Regions from separate parts of the Homo sapiens genome. Here region 1 is linked to region 2. Evidence: promoter capture Hi-C in human tissues and cell types (Jung and others, 2019). All regions are on one chromosome and are shown on one strand. The core of a region is centred on a gene start or on the middle of the fragment in contact, and the rest is flanking DNA. Distances in the headings are between cores, read along the strand shown.

What was found. Contacts are between HindIII fragments. The study calls those that stand out against the background at their distance.
Region 1: a fragment that was not itself captured here is called in contact with the fragment with the promoter of NOL11 in region 2 in 1 of the 25 tissues and cell types used here (lymphoblastoid cells).

The regions. Positions count from the first base shown.
Region 1 is chr17:67,774,080-67,776,779 of GRCh38, forward strand. It overlaps the pseudogene RPSAP67. Among named protein-coding and RNA genes, the nearest start is that of SNORA38B, 35 kb to the left of the region's middle. The HindIII fragment of the contact is 7,192 bases long and covers 1-2,700 here.
Region 2 is chr17:67,716,486-67,719,185 of GRCh38, forward strand. It overlaps NOL11 (nucleolar protein 11), which reads left to right and starts at 1,451. Exons shown (of 18, transcript NM_015462.5): 1 at 1,451-1,603. The coding sequence starts at 1,463. LOC101928045 (a long non-coding RNA gene) reads right to left here and starts at 1,193. Exons shown (of 4, transcript NR_188294.1): 1 at 1,157-1,193. RefSeq lists enhancers at 1,362-1,441, 1,512-1,701, 2,624-2,700 and a silencer at 1,972-2,061. The HindIII fragment of the contact is 26,229 bases long and covers 1-2,700 here.

The DNA of each region.
Region 1 (2,700 bases), core at 151-2,650, 58 kb after region 2:
GGCTCACTGCAAGCTCTGCCTCCTGGGTTCACGCCATTCTCCTGCCTCAGCCTCCCGAGTAGCTGGGACTACCTACAGGCTCCCGCCACCACGCCCGGCTAATTTTTTGTATTTTTAGTAGAGACAGCGTTTCACTGTGTTAGCCAGGATGGTCTCGATCTCCTGACCTCGTGATCCGCCCGCCTCTGCCTCCCAAAGTGCTGGGATTACAGGCGTGAGCCACCGCGCCTGGCCTAATTTTTGTATTTTTAGTAGAGATGGGGTTTCACCATTTTGGTCTTTTTTTTTCTTCTTTTTTTTGAGACAGGGTCTCGCTCTGTCACCCAGGCTGGAGTGCAGTAGTGAAATTATGCCTCACTGCAGCCTTGACCTCCTGGGCGCAAGTGATCCTCCCACCTCAGCCCCCCAAGTAGCTGGGACCACAGGCTGGCACCACCACACCCGGCTAATTTTTGTGTTTTTTGTAGAGATGGGGTTTTGCCAGGTTGCTCAGGCTGGTTTTGAACTCCTGGGTTCAAGCGACCTGTTCACCTCGACCTCCCAAAATAGTAGGATTACAGGCATGAGCCGCTGCACCTGGTCTAGACCCATCTTCAGTGGCAGTCTGAGTGCTGTGTTCTTCAGTAGGGACCTACTTAACAGGGACAGAGAGCACCTGCACACCTTCAGACAAGTCTGCAACCTCGGATGGCAGTTCATTTGCTCTTAAGGTCCTTCTTGGTCACTGCCTTTCAGCAGTGACCTGTTCTTTTTCAGTATTGTCAACCCAAAATATCTGAGACAGGTCTCAGTCAACTTAGAAAGTTTGTTTGTTTTTGTTTTTTTTTTTTTTTTTGAGACAGTCTCACTCTGTTGCTCAGGCTGGAGTGCAGTGGTGCAATCTTGTCTCACTGTAGACTCTGCCTCCAGGTTTCCAGCAATTCTCCTGCCTCAGCCTCCTGAGTAGCTGGGATTACAGGCGCCCACCAAAACGCCTGGCTAATTTTTGTATTTTTAGTAGAGACAGAGTTTCACCATTTTGGCCAGGCTGGTCTTGAACTCCTGACCTCAGGTGATCTGCCCACCTCGGCCTCCCAAAGCGCTAGCATTACAGGCGTGAGCCACCGTGCCTGGCCTAGAAAGTTTATTTTGCCAAAGTTAAGAACATGCTGTGACATAGCCTCAGGAGGTCCTGATGACATGTAGGTGGTCGGGGTACAGCTTGCTTTTATAAATTTTAGGGAGACATGAGACATCAATCAATACATGTAAGATTTACACTGGTTTGATCTGGAAGGGTAGGACAACGCAAAGGGTGGGACAACTCAAAGGGTGAGGGGTGCTTTCAGGTAATAAGTAGACTTAAAAATGTTCTGATTGGCAATTGGTTGAAAGTTATTATCAGTAGAAAGGAATGTCTGGGTTAGAATAAGAGGTTGTGGACCCCTGGACACCTAGGTTATTTCATACAGATGAAGCCTCCAAGTAGCAGGCTTTAGACAGAATACAGATATTTCTTATGAGACTTAAGGTCTGTGTTGGTGTTAATGCTGGAAGGGTATAAGGAGCCATGTCCAACCCCCCTCTTCCATCATGACCTGAACTGGATTTTCAGGTAACTCTGGAATGCCCATGGCCAAGAGGACGGGTCCATTCAGATGGTTGGGAGGCCTTAGAATTTTATTTTTGGTTTAAAATATCTTTTTTTTTTTTGAAGACCAAGTCTTGCTCTGTCACCCAGGCTGGAGGGTAGCGTCACCATCTCGGCTCACTGCAACCTCTGCCTCCTGTTTTCAAGGGATTCTCCCACCTCAGCCTCCCTAGTAGCTGGGACTACAAGTGCATGCCACCACACCTGGCTAATTTTTGTATTTTTGGTAGAGATGGGGTTTTGCCATGTTAGCCAGGCTAGTCTCGAACTCCTGACCTCAAGTGATCCACCCGCCTTGACCTCCCAAAGTGTTGGGATTACAGGCGTGAGCCACTGTGCCCAGCCTATAATATCTTTAGAATCTCTGCAGAAGTAGAGCTCAGGCATGAGATCCTATGGTGATCACAGGAGATGGTGTTACACATGTACAGAACTTCCCTGCCAGCACCCACCACAGCAGACCCACTCAGGAGCTCCTTTCTCGTTGCTTGGGATGGCAGTGTCCACGCAGTGTCAAGGAGAATCTTTGTGACCAAGAGCCATGGTAGGCCGGTTACCATGAAACACTTCTGTGACAGGCTGGTGGTCAGCCCCAGGATCAGTAACCATCAGAAGACGTGGCTCCCAGGCCGGGCGCGGTGGCTCACGCCTGTAATCCCAGCACTTTGGGAGGCCGAGATGGGTGGATCACGAGGTCAGGAGATCGAGACCAACCTGGCTAACATGGTGAAACCCCGTCTCTACTAAAAATACAAAAAATTAGCCAGGTGTGGTGGCGGGTGCCTGTAGTCCCACCTACTCGGGAGGCTGAGGCAGGAGAATGGCGTGAACCCGGGAGGTGGAGCTTGCAGTGAGCCGAGATCGCGCCCCTGCACTCCAGCCTGGGCAACCGAGCGAGACTCCATCTCAAAAAAAAAAAAAAAAGAAGACGTGGCTCCCAGAAGGCTGTCTGGATCTGGTTAGTGAAGGTTCCAAGAGTGAAGTGGCCAGCAGTGAGAGCGGCTTCAGTGGCAGCAGCAAACTTCAGCACAGCCCGCTGGCTAGTATTCCTGGAGGGTATGACACGGGAA
Region 2 (2,700 bases), core at 201-2,700:
ATTGCAGTGAGTTGAGACTGCGTCACTCCAGCCTGGGCGACAGAGCAAGACCCTGTCTCAAAAAAAAAAAAAAAAAAAAAAAGACATCCTCTCAAGGAGGCCTGTGGTCATCCTAGTGAAAATTTCACATACACAGACCACTCCTTCCTCCCCCACACACCCACGCTTTATCTCTCCCTTCTGAGTTTAATGTTTTTCTTCTTACCACCTATCACAAAGTAAGTTATGAAGCATAATAATAAACTATATCCTCTTGATCTCACAACCCAGCCTAAAAATTAAAAGATTATCAGAGTTCAAGATCACCTTGGGCAACAAAGCAAGACTCCATGTCTGCAAAAAATACAAAAATTAGCCGGGCGTGGTGATGGATGCCTGTAGTCCCAGTTATTCGGGAGGCTGAAGCAGGAGGATTGCTTTATTTAGCCCAAGAGTTAGAGGCTGCAGTGAGCCATGATAATGCCACTACTTTTGAACAACAAAAGACCTATTAGCATTATAAAAATAGACTGCATTTGATTCCTTCACAGTAGCTGGATATTCTCCTTTTGCCCATGTCGTCATGTTGGGGCAATGAGAAACAACACACATGGCGATCTGGTGGATGCTTAAATCTAAACTGAGGCACTTTGTCACACTGGGTACATTTGTTTAGTAATTGCCTATTAAATGGTTTCTCCCTAAGAACATCACAATTTATCTTTACTTATTTATTTAACATTATTGATTGAATCTGCCATGCTTATCTGAGAAACATACATTTCTCCCGGAAATAAAAACCTTGCCAAAAATCACACAGGGGACCTTCAACTTCACCTTCATCAAACTAGTCTGAATTTCCTGTAAGCTGAGGAGAGATTTTCCCCACTGGGGCTCAGAGAAGGGGAGTCAGAGAACTCAGAAGGCCTGAAAGACTGAAAAGACTGGAGATCTCTAGAGGGTTCCAAGAAACTTGGGGGGAATTAAGCATTTCACGTAGGAACAGCACGTTATTGGGAGTTTACCTACAGAGATAAATATTTTTTCTTTGGCAGATCGTTCCACAAGGCCATGGATGGAATTCCTAGGGAGTTCCCTTGCAATTAAAAAAAAAAAAATCTAGCTTATTTATATTCGACCACTCCCTAGACCCATCTACAGTCTCTCAAGTCCCCACCTAGAACAGCACGCAGCCGATTCAGGACCCAGTAAGCAGCACTTCCGCGCCTACCCTATCCCTTCCTGGAGCACATCCGGGACTCGGCGAGGCGTGGTCTCGGGAGGCGGAGTCTGACGCAAGCCGGCCCAGCCCACCTGGCTAAATTCACAGTCGCGCTCGCTCCTTCCGCCCGCCAGAGGTCGCAGGCTGCGAGAGCAGGTTCCTGGTTTGGCAAGCACTCGCCCCCTCAGGCCCGTTCATTCTCGCGAGAGAAAGCGCGAGGCCTGCCGGGAGTGAGCGCGGCCGTACTTAGGTTTGCTCAAAATGGCAGCGCTGGAGGAAGAATTCACGTTGTCTTCGGTAGTCCTGAGCGCCGGGCCTGAAGGACTCCTAGGCGTGGAGCAGAGCGACAAAACAGACCAGTTTCTAGTGACAGACAGCGGCAGGACAGTCATCCTCTATAAGGTGAAGGCAATAGGTTTGGGAGCGCCCCGACTGCCTTCTCGCCCCTTTCTGAGCGCGGAGCTCGAGCTCAAGTTTCTCACAGCTTCAGAAAGAGATCGTGGAGAAGGCTTAGCAGAGAGCCGGCTGGGCCTGTTGGGGACGCTGAGTGAGGTCTGGAATCTGGCTTGCTTGCCTTCCTGTAAAGGCATATTTCCGACTTGCAGGGGCAGAGCGTCTGAGTGCACGTGGGTTAGACTCGGAAAAGAAAGAAAACCTGTGCTTTTGCTTCGGAACTCGCGGAATTGGCCTTGCTAAGATTCCCTCCTAGGGTCTTTATTATCTTAGCCGCCCGCGGGAGGATGGAACGGAGATTGGTTGGGCGGGAGAGGATGACACTGACAGAGTGGGAATAGTGGTTTAGCCGTGTCTACACTTCACACCCCTCTCTTTGTAGGGGCGGGGACAATTTTAGAGAGTGAGGGACTTTCTTGATAGCTCGCTAAGAATCTTGCCTCCAAGTGAGTTGTCTGTTGGCATCTCTGATTCACGCTGGGAATCCTGGAGTTGAGTCCTGGGAAAATCTGCAAGCCCTGCCCCCATTTCAGCCTAAAGCCTGATAGAGAACACTTTCTAACCTTGCTTTTGGTGGTCGCATAGAAAGCAGTTACTTTTCTCTGGGCTGCTGAACATAGTTTTCCATGTTTTAAAGAAGTTAGGTATCTGCTTTGACGTTTTGAGAACAGGTTGCTAACAGCTCCCTGTGCCGTTTTGACTCTGCTAACTCTATTGGGTTTCACTTGGGATGTCAAGTAGATTTGCAGTTTTGCAGCTCCTGCATAGGAATACAATGGCAGATTGGAATTGGATAGACATGATCCCAGATGTCCCTACTTAATTTCCCATGCCGCTGTTCAGAGGCATAACTTCCCATGCAGAGGCATAATATAATCAATTTTTAAATGTACTATTGTTTTTTTAACAAAGGGTTGCTTATTTACTTATTTAGGAACTTAGTTATATTTTCATTTTAACTACCCTTTTAGAGGTTTGGCCGGACGCGGTGGTTCACGCCTGTAATCCCAGAACTTCGGGAGGCCCAGGTGGGTGGATCACTTGAG